Regions from separate parts of the Homo sapiens genome. Here all the other regions are linked to region 1. Evidence: promoter capture Hi-C in human tissues and cell types (Jung and others, 2019). All regions are on one chromosome and are shown on one strand. Each heading gives the region's core, a stretch centred on a gene start or on the middle of the fragment in contact. The rest is flanking DNA. Distances are from core to core; before and after follow the strand shown.

What was found. The method cuts DNA at HindIII sites, captures the fragments that hold promoters and counts their contacts. A contact is called where the count stands out against the background at its distance.
Region 2: a contact is called between a fragment that was not itself captured here and the fragment with the promoter of GPR68 in region 1, in 2 of the 25 tissues and cell types used here (bladder and hippocampus).
Region 3: a fragment that was not itself captured here is called in contact with the fragment with the promoter of GPR68 in region 1 in 1 of the 25 tissues and cell types used here (spleen).

The regions. Positions count from the first base shown.
Region 1 is chr14:91,242,961-91,246,628 of GRCh38, reverse strand. GPR68 (G protein-coupled receptor 68) reads left to right here and starts at 1,925. Exons shown (of 2, transcript NM_001177676.2): 1 at 1,925-2,332. RefSeq lists enhancers at 2,158-2,207, 1,727-2,228, 3,288-3,397. The HindIII fragment of the contact is 47,768 bases long and covers 1-3,668 here.
Region 2 is chr14:90,966,469-90,970,136 of GRCh38, reverse strand. All of the region lies in intron 3 of RPS6KA5 (ribosomal protein S6 kinase A5), which reads left to right. Among named protein-coding and RNA genes, the nearest start is that of RPS6KA5, 92 kb to the left of the region's middle. The HindIII fragment of the contact is 3,115 bases long and covers 501-3,615 here.
Region 3 is chr14:91,503,546-91,507,213 of GRCh38, reverse strand. All of the region lies in intron 1 of PPP4R3A (protein phosphatase 4 regulatory subunit 3A), which reads left to right. Among named protein-coding and RNA genes, the nearest start is that of PPP4R3A, 4.9 kb to the left of the region's middle. The HindIII fragment of the contact is 3,818 bases long and covers 1-3,574 here.

The DNA.
Region 1 (3,668 bases), core at 676-3,175:
GAGAGCATGGGCTCTTTTTTCTCTTACTGAGCTAGCATTTCACAAAGACCTGGGCTCAGCCAATTTGAGTAAAACCAAAGAAAGTTTCACCCCTCCTTCATCCCAAAGGCATGGTCCTTACTCCAGGTGCAGTAGGGCACATGCTGCCAGCAGAGGGGCTGGGGCAGCTTGCCAGCCCCTGGCAGGGCTGGAGGCGGGAGGGGACACCATGCCATTAGTGGTTCCTGCAGGTATAGACGATGATGGTGTAGACGGCCGGTGTGTGCACACCCTGTTAGGACAGGCCACCCCGTAGAGGGCCAGAGGTGCTCTCTCTGGCAGGTTGTGTCCTAGGGGTAAGCCAGGCAGTCACTGCTAAGTCAGTTCTGTGCTCCTAACCCCGCGTCCTCCTATATGACATCAGGGAAAGCCAGCCACACTTCCGCAACTCAGAAGTAGCACGTGTGTCTAAATGCACGCTACTGCACCACAACAAGCTGAAGCCTTTGCTCGTAACATAAGGCCTGCAAGAAGCAACTGACGTAGGAAACTTTTTTTTTTTTGAGACGGAGTTTCGCTTTTGTCGCCCAGTCTGGAGTGCAATGGCATGATCTCAGCTCACCGCAACCTCTGCCTCCCAGGTTCAAGTGATTCTCCTGCCTCAGCTTCCCGAGTAGCTAGGATTACAGGCATGCGCCACCACCCCCAGCAAATTTTTGTATTTTTAATAGAGATGGGGTTTCACCATGTTGACCAGGCCGGTCTCCAACTCCTGACCTCAGGTGATCCACCCGCCTCGGCTTCCCAAAGTGCTAGGATTCCAGGCGTGAGCCACCGCACCTGGCCGGAAATAGTTTTTAAAAGGCCTGCTATGTGGTAGCATTTGCTTGGAGGGCCCAGGCCCCACTGAAGGGGATTTCCTTAGACCCCCTACCAACAGAGTGAGGGCAGTGGAGCCAAGGCTCTTGGCATGAATAAGATGGGCATCAGTGTTTTAAACTGTGTTGGTCCCCAGAGCAGGGACCAAGCACAGGGCTCTGGCCACTTCCAGCAGGAAGGACTCGCACCCCCAGTGGCCCCATGCACCGTATCTGTTGGCTTCCTGGCTCTGGCAACGTAGCTTATAATCAGCTTCCAAGGAGTCTGCCTTGGAGGGAGGTGGTTACGCCAAAATGCTGGGCCTTTCCATCCTCCGTGTTATGTGTGTGAGGGAGGGAGTTTAGTAAGTGCTCCTGAGAGCCAGAAGGGCCCCCGGGGCCAGAGCCCTGGGCTTGATTCCTTCTCTGGGGACCGACACAGTTGAAAACATTGATGCCCGCCCTATCCTTACTGATGCCCAGAGCCTTAGCTCCACTGCCTTCGCTCTGCTGCTCTGCCAAACAGGATCCTACCTGCTTCACCACATCCGTGGCTGCCCACCTTCACTGCACTTTAGAACAGTCCAGGGAGCTTTAGAGCCACTGATGCTGGCACGTCACTTCCAGGAAACATGATTTAACCAGCCCCGGGTGGGGCCCGGGCATTGGTATTTTTTTTGTAGGCTCCCAGGTATGTTCTCATGCACATGGCCAGGGTTGAGCCCCAGTGACCCAGATGTTGGCGGCTTCCCCCACCCTTGCCTGGATCCCGGTATCCTGTAGGTGCTGAAAGGTGGCTAGAATTAGCCCACCCCCTCCTCCTGTATCCCCCCACCACAGTCCTGAGGGCACCTGCCCCTAGCTCAGGCTTTCACATTCCCAGCGAGGCTGCTCACTGACTCTGGGTTGCATGGAGAGCAGAGGAAGATGCGTGGAGAGAGCCATTCCGCCGCCCTCAGCCTCTGGCTGGCGAGTGGTTCCTCGGCAACCGCCCAGCCTGACACCAGATTGGAGTTCACATGATTCTGCCTCAGCTCGGGAATGGGCAGCCTCCAGCTGGGGATTTTCTAGCCGGAGCTGGGAGGTTCAGGCTGCGGGAAGTCGCTGGAGGGAGAGCTGGGATCGTGGCTGCAAGGGTGCCCAGGCTCCTGCAGAGCCTCTGCAGGAAGCCCAGCTGTTTGAGGTTTGAAGGCAGAGCCTAGCTGGGGCAGGCAGAGTCAGAGAGGACTCGTTTCAGAGTCCCCCCTCAGAGGACTCCCTCCATCCTGATTTCAGCAGCTGCCTGCTCCTCACCTGGTTGCAGAGACCACACTGCCTTCCTGGGGCCCTGAGGCTCTAGGAGAAGCTGGAAAGCACAGGTGGGGGTCCATCCAGCTGTTTCCAAACTGCGGGTTGTGACCCATTCATGGGTCAGTAAATCAACTTCATAGCTCATGACCTGCATTTAAAAAATTGAAATAGAATAGAAATGATCAGAGTGCGTGGCAAGAAGTAGGGTAAGTATTGCTTTGGGGAAGTTTGTTGCTTTGTACAGATGTGTGTGTGTGTGTGTGTGTGTGTGTGTGTGTGTGTGTCTGTGTTCTGGGTCGCGATGTCAGGTGTATTTCTTGCTATTGCTTGTGATCCAAAAAGCTCAAAGGCAGCAAGTTGGTGCCTAGACACGTGGGTTCTGGATTCAGATCCACCCCAACTGACTGTGTGAGTTTGAGCCTCCCTGCATTAGCCTCTCTGGGCTTCAGGTTCTGAGAAATGGCTTAGCAATGCCAGCCCACCTGACTCACAGGGACTTCGTGGGCCCAGATGGGACTGACCTTTGAAACAGTGACAAGGGTTCTAGAAGTGAGATGCTATGGTCCACGTTGTTGCTGGAGTGAGGCGATCTGGGGGGAAAATGGGGACTAAGGAAAAATGCATCCTGATGTTTCCCCTCTCCTCAGAGGGAAAAATAAAGCACTTTCAGAAAATGAAACAGCCTTGCTTAAAGCATGCAGAGGTTTGGCCAACTGAAGGAAAAGGAAGCTGGGCCCTGGGGAAACTCCCCAGCTCTTGTGGGTTTGGGGTTCCGTGAGCAGCCCTGGCACCATGAGTAACTGTCTGTGTGCGTGCCGGTGTGTGCTGCACGAAAGGGGGGGCGAGTTAGATCACTATTTATGTGCCAGCTGGAATCCAGCATTTAGGCACCTCCGCCTTCTGACTTGGGACATGCAAGAGACTCCTAGCTTAGTCAGAGAGGCCTTTCCTTCCTGTTGGGAGCTTAATTTCTCTTGGTCATTAAAGTCCTCAGAGACCTCTATGCTGATTTGCATTTGCTAAAGATTTGCTTTCAGGCGTTGAGTCACTCTATAGTTTTTCTCAATTTTTTAGCTGGGTAATAAAGTGTTATTTTGATTCTTTTCTCCAATGCCTTCCCAAACTACGGACTGGCCACGTGGCTGGTTTTCCTCAGTGGGCGTTGAAAACATGGTTGACCTGCTAAAGCATAGTCCAGGTGAAGGGGCCAGGCCAGGACCAAGCCTGGTGGCCATTGCTGCAGCATCTGTGAGGACTGGAGCTTGGCTGAGCTGGGGGCTTGAGGGTGGTGGTTCTGGGATGATCATGATAGTCAGCACAGCATGAAGGAAAGTATGGACCAGTCCGAGTTCCAGACCTGGCCTGCCGCATCTCAACTGCAGAGACTTCAGCAGGTTGGTTCATCTCTCTGAGCCTCAGTTTCTTTATCTGTAAAGTGGGAGCTGATGAGAGTGGTGTTGAAAGAGAGAACAGACATTCAGAAACTTGCCTGGCAAGTGCAGGGCCCTCGACAGATGTGGCTTAGTTCTTCTCTACATCTAC
Region 2 (3,668 bases), core at 809-3,308, 280 kb after region 1:
ACCAAACAAAAATAAACTGAGATGGTTTTGGCATGACATTAAAAAGAAATGACTTTCAGGTTTGTGTGGCATGTCACGTTAAGACTATATTTTAGATAGAAGATAAGAAAAGGGAGCTATCAAGAGAGATTTGGGTGGTCCAGAGGAGAAAGAGTAGGTAGAAATGAGAACAGGAGGTATGGGAGTTCATGGAAGTGAAGCATATCAGAAGGAAGAGGAAAATTTGTAGGAAAAAAAATAAAAAGAAGACCAAGTAACAGTGCAGAGAGAGAGAGAAAAAAAGAGAGAAGTGGTCTGAATCATAGGGGGCATGTGGGAATTAATAACAGCTCTTTGGAAGGTGCCACCATTTAAGAAGAAATATGAGAGAGAGAAATTCTAAGTAGGAGAATTTGAAATAGAAAGCTTAGATGTCTAGAGGTCAGCCAGAGTATTACTGGAAATAAGTAGGTGTTTGGGTGTTTGGAGAGTGAAAGCAGAACAGAATCTTTCCTTGAAAGCAGGAGATGTAGGATTTCTGTTAACTCTACGACTTCCCCTCCTACAAGCTGACTTCCATGCAATTGCACGAGCAAGACATAGCCTTAAAATAAGCTTGCTAGCCCTTTCTGTGGTTATCCTTTTGCATCTTAAATGGAAAATGGGCTATTTAGGCTGTAGTTTTTAGTAATACTTTAAAGCTTATGTAACCCAATGTCTCTGTGAATTTCACTTTCTCCATCTGCTAATAAAAGTGTATGAACTGCAGAACAATGGAGAGATTTCTGAGTTCAACGTTAAGTCAAATCAGATGTGCAAAGACGAGCAGCCTGAAACTGTGCAACAGTATGTACTTAGAAAGTCAGAATTTTGATGGAGAGCACGTGCTGTTTTACCCTAACGTTAATTCCATAAGGTATTAATTGTCAGAATGATATGAGTTGCTTAAGAATCTTGGAAATTTTGTAGAGATCTTCAGTTCAAATTCTCAGAATTAATTTACTGTTTTAAGAAACAAATTTACTGGTTTAAAGGCTATTTTTCTCTCCTCCATTCTCTACCTGCCTTTCCATATACATACAAACACACATACACACACACGGCTTGCTATTCTGAATCCAAGAAGGAAATATTATTTCATAATAACAAAGTGAAATCTACTTGCTACTGTTAAATATCTGCATAAATTATGTGTCATTGAAATGAAATATAAATTGTTTTCCTAATATGAAAGATGTGTGACCTAAATTAAAGGGCTATTATTCTGCTAAAATAAAAAGATTGTTTTGGTTATTAACTGTGTGATCTTGAACAAGACACTTAAGTTATAAGCATGATCTACAAGTTGCTAATATATCAGTTGTCTTTTTCTGCATAACTAACCCAAAATTCAGTGGGTTAACATAACCATTTTTGAGGGGCTCAATTTGGGCTGATCCATAGAGGCAGTTTTTGTGCTATTTTGCTGCCTTTGAAACACTCTTTTCCTTTTTGCCCTTTGCAAAGGGCATAAAGTTAAGTAATATGAGGACTGAAAAGTATTCATTGACTCTAGTAACAAGAGGTTATTTTTAGCTTTAAGTTATGGTGTTATCATGGAGGTAGAAGTTGTACTGTAGTATGTTAAGGAATGAATAGAGGCTGTGGTAGACTGAATAATGTCCTCCCAGAGATGCCCACATTCTAATCCCCCAGGACCTGTCAGTATGTTGAGCTACATGGTAAAGAAGAATTAAGATTACAGATGAAATTAAGACCACTAATCAGCTGACTCTAAAATTGAGAGATTATTCTGAATTATCTGGTGTGGGGCCAATGTAACCACAAGGGTCCTTACACAATAGGAAGAGGGAGGGAGGGAGGAGAGAGGAGGGTGAGAGGGAGATGTGTCTACAGAGAAGGTCAGGTGATGCAATGTGAGAAGTGACTCAGCTGCCATAGCTGCCTTTTAGGATGAGGGAAGGGACCAGAAGCCAAGGAATGTGGGTGGCCTGTATCTAGAAGCTAGAAAAGGCCAGGAAACAGATTTTTCCCTGGAGCCCCAGAAGAAACGCAGTCCTGCTGACACCTTGATTTTAGTCCAGTGATGTCCATGTCAGACTTCGAGTGTACAAAATTATAAAATAATAAATTCATAGTGTTTACGCCACTAAGTCTGTGGTAACTTCCTATAGCAGCAATATGAAGGGAACAGTGGGTAAGGAGCATCAGCCATGTAGACCACGCTTTAAAGAAGTTTGGCAGTAAAATAAAGAAGAAAGACAAGATGGGACACGTGGGATTTAGGGAGGATGGTAGTGTGTTTTAAAATGGGAGAAATTTTATGTTTTTGAATTTTCACATTATTTGTGTGATTTCTGTGTTATTTTTATGCTTCTTAGAGACACAGTATCAGAGTGCTTCATCTGGCATTCCAAATACCAGAACATAAAAATCTTTAAAAGCAAGTTAATTGCACTTGAATAAAAACCAGATATCTCTGCAATTTTAAAACTTAGGATTGCACTGAAATATCAGTTATATAAGAAAATCTCTCTTTAGCTTAATACTAAGTAATTAGACCCTGGTAGTACTTTATGGAAATATATGTTAAACATTCATAAGTCTTAAAATTATGACCACATTGAGTATGTAAGTCAGGGCACAATAAATTTGATTTTTATATTTAAGTCATTATAATTAAGCTTGACAGTATTTTTCAAGTCTATAAATTGTAACTGATGCCTGTAAATAATAATAGGAGCTATTAGTTATTATTTAACAAATGCCTACTGTATGCCTGGCTCATAATCCTCAGTAGCTCATTTAATCCTCATGACAATCTTATGTGGAAGTTAGAATTATTTATATTAATATTTTGCAGTTATAGAATATTAGTCATCCTACATATAAAGAAGACCATTTAAGAAATACAAAGGAATTAAGATATAATCATTTACATGACATTTCTTTTAATCAAGAAACAAATCATTGGCACAAGGATCATATAAGGTATTCCATTGTATGGACTGTAAGTCAATTTCAATGGGATGATAAATGTTTTTTGGAAGGGTCACATTAATGAAATTTGCCTGACAGCTTCTGAGAACATGTATTAGAGTTAGCCCTACCTATTTATTTTTAATTATTGTCATAAAGATGGACTATTGATAGTTTTCTTTTGTTCTTCAGTTGTAAACAGAATAAGTCTGAAGACTTATCCTGAATTTATCTCTTGGAAGAGCTCAGAACTTGAGACATGCCCATCAAGAAAGATGTTCTTACTGTTATTACCAGTTCTCTTTTGCTTTCTCTCTTCTTTTCTATTTCTTTCTACTCTTTATCAATGCTGAAACTTAAGATGAAGAATCTACCTTAATACTTATGTGGCTACGGCAGTTAGTTACTGCAATATTACATGTTTACTCATTCCTTGCAACTAGTATTAGTGCCTTGTATTCGATAGGGCTAGACCCTGTGCCTGGCAGAGAGAAAATTGTCCTTGGACTTTAGTCTGCCTCTTTGGTGCCAGATCCCAACTTGACTTTCTGGCAGAATACATGTAAATTAGCTTTTAGAATAAAATGTACAATATGTAAATAAAGAGGTATGACTCCGTTGGTACACTGTACTCTCTAAAGCTTAATTTTGTATGTGCCTACTATTTTAGAAGCTTTGGAGATATTTTTTATGTCTTTAGGAATTTTGTG
Region 3 (3,668 bases), core at 416-2,915, 260 kb before region 1:
TAGTAGCTGGGACTATGGGCATGTGCCACTATGCCTGGCTAATTTTTTTGTATTTTTAGTAGAGACGGGGTTTCAACATTTTGGCCAGTCTGGTCTCGAACTCTGTACCTCAGGTGATCCACCCGCCTCGGCCTCCCAAAGTGCTAGGATTACAGGCGTGAGCCACTGCGCCGAACCTCCATTTATATTTTTACCATTTTGGAAATAGCCACAAATCTCTCTTCCTCCATTTTGCAGGTTGGAGGTTAAATGACTAAAACAAAATGACTTTAATTTTTATCTAGCAGGGAGAGCTTAACTAAATTACTGATGTGCCCTTGTAAATTTAGGCTGTAAGGAAAACTGAATGCAAAGAATGGACTTAGGCTGGGTGCGGTGGCTCACGCCTATAATCCCAGCATTTTGGGATGCCCAGGCCGACGGATTGTGTGGGCTCGGGAGTTCAAGACCAGCCTGGGCAACATGGCGAAACCCCATCTCTACAAAACATACAAACATTAGCTGGTGCGGTGGCACGGGCCTGTAGTCCTATCTGCTCTGGAGGCTGAGGTGGGAGGGTCACTTGAGCCTAGGAGGTGGAGGCTGCAGTGAGCTGTGATCATGCCACTGCACTGGGTGACAGAGGGAGACCCTGTCACACACAAACACACATACACACACACCATGGACTTAGAAAAAATTCCAGGATACTTGTGAAATACTGTCAGTAATCTTTAGTCGATGATTAACATTTCTTGTCACATCTAAATAGGGATAATAAGTCAAAATTTACTGACTACCTACTATGTGCCAAACTCTTTTAGCAGTTTACTTATATTGACTTACGTAATTCTTACAACAGTGTCTGATTTAGTGCTATTAACCATATTAAACTCCCATGTTACTGTCTACTTGCATTTGCTGCTTTATTAGCCTGAAGGTTTATTTCAAAGAAAATGAAAATTACTTTTAGCCTAAAGATATTTTCGGCCGGGCACAATGGCTCATGCCTGTAATCCCATCACTTAGGGAGGCCAAGGCGGGCAGATCACAAGGTCAGGAGATCGAGACCATCCTGGCTAATATGGTGAAACCCTGTCTCTACTAAAAACATACAAAAATGTAGCCAGGTGTGGTGGCGGGCGCCTGTAGTCCCAGCTGCTCAGGAGGCTGAGGCAGGAGAATGGTGTGAACACAGGAGGCGGAGCTTGCAGTGAGCCAAGATCAGCACCACTGCACTCCAGTCTGGGTGACAAAGCGAGACTCCGTCTCAAAAAAAAAAAAAATTTCAATTATAGTTTATCTACAAGCTTTACATGGATGTTTTTGTGTTGACTGCCAGTTGGGGTCAGCCATTATTGTGTGCTTGCTCCATTCTCCATCATAGGATAATTGATATTTTCTTTTTGTTGTCATGAGCAAAATGGAAAGTATTTCTGATTTTCCATAAATTGAGTCATTTGTCCAATAGAAACTTAAAATTATTGCGCTTTTCCATACTTGGGCTAGACCTAGTCATTATTGTGTTGAAGTTTTTCTTTTCTAAATTACTTGTAGCTTTTCCCCAAAAAAACTTTTGATTTTCAGATTATTTCTTTAGAACAAAATAAATATTTGATTCTTAACACTTTTCAAGTATTTATTGTCTGTAAAATTAAGTTTTTGTGATGTGTTAATCATCCACCTTAGAAATAGGCTATCAGCTAATTTGGTGGTCAGTGCTAGAGATAGTGTGATAGGGGCTTTTGCATACCTGTGAAATAAATGGTGTGTGTTTTTTTTTTTTTTTTAGGCAGAATCTCTGTCATCCTGGCTGGAGTGCAGTAGCATCATCTTGGCTCACTGCAACCTCCACCTTCCAGGTTCAAGGGATTCTCATGCTTCAAGCCTCAAGCCTGGGATTACAGGCGTCTGCCATCATGCATGGCTAATTTTTGTGTTTTTAGTAGGGACACGGTTTCACCATGTTGGCCAGGCTGGTCTTGAACTGCTGACATCAGGTGATCCGCCCTCCTCAGCCTCCCAAAGTGCTGGGATTACAGGCGTGAGCCACCACACCCGGCCGCGTTTCTTTTTTTTAATAAGTTCTCTCAGAAAGGATGACAACATGTCCAAAGTCATTCATCTATTAAGATGGTATGAGTTGGGATTCAAATTCAGGCAATTCATTTTAAACTGTACACACTACTTAGTAATGACAAAGCGTTTGGGAATTTTATAATGTATATAGTGTTAGCATGGGTATAGAAAGGCTGGGTAGTTTTAAAATTCTCTCATTATTGGGTCTATATTTGTGGACGGGGAAGCTATAATAATGCTATCTCAACTGTAGGCTCAGTTCTTGTTAGGGGAGCTTATATGCTCGTCTAAAAATCACAGAAGAGAATTTCTAAATGGAAGTACTTGTGGCCTTCATGTTACAGAGCAGATCTGTCATGGTAAGTACTGTATGCCTTCCCTTCCAAAACCGAGTAACTTGGCACTCAACCTACCTTGCTTTAGAGGAAAAGGGATGTCCCACTAAGCTTCTGGGCCCATTTCTTGGATTGCATCTTTATCCAGTAGGTTTCTGCTGGCAAAATAGGTTGTAAGAACACGTCCCTTTTGTTTTTTGTTTTCTTTTTTTTTTTTTGAGTCAGTGTTTCGCTCTTGTCACTTAGGCCGGAGTGCAATGGCACAATCTCGGCTCACTGCAACCTCCGCTTCCCGGGTTCAAGCGATTCTCCCGCCTCAGCCTTACGAGTAGCTGACATTACAGGTGCCTGCCACCACGCCTGGTGAATTTCTGTGTTTTTAGTAGAGACGAGGTTTCACCATGTTGGCCAGGCCGATCTCGAACTCCTGACCTCAGGTGAGCCACCGCACCCTGCTCTTTTTCTTTTCTTTTCTTTTCTTTTTTTTTTTTTTTTAATTTTTAAGAGCTCTGTTGCCCATGCTGTAGTGCAGTGGCAGGATCATAGCTCACTGTAACCTCAAACTTCTGGGCTCAGTTGATCTTCCCACCTAGCTGGGATTACAGGTGCACACCACTGTGCCTGGGTAATTAAAAAAAAATTTTTTTTTTCTTTTTTTTAAGAGATGGAAGGGGGTGGGTCTTACTTTGTCGCCCAGGCTGGTCTCGAACTCCTGGGCTCAGGCATGAGCCACCATGCCTGGTCCAATTTTTGAATTTTTTCAAAGGTTCTCACTGTATTGCCCAGAATGGTCTCGATCTCCAGATGTGAAGTGATCTTTCCCACTTGGCCGCCTAAAGTGCTGGGATTACACCGCACCTGGCCCATGCTTTTCTTTAAGGAAGATAGATTACCTTATTTCTCTCAGTTTTTATGATAGCCGTATACCTGCAAAGTTCCATCTTCCATTTCAGATTATTTTGTTTTTATTTTTAATTCTTTCAGTGTATGCTGTGTCTGTTAACTTGAAGTAAGGATAATAATTTCATACCTTGCTTATGCTCTCCCTTTGTGGTGAAATCATTATACTACTTTTCTTTCTTTTGTTTTTTCTTCAACTTTTATTTTAAATTCCCGGGTACGTGTGCAGGTTTGTTACATAGGTAAATGTGTGCCATGGTGGTTTGCTGCACAGATCAACCCATCACCTAGGTATTAAGCCCAGCATCCATTAGCTATTCTTCCTGATACTCTCTCTCCCTCTGCCCCTTTGTACTACTTTTCACCATTATGATT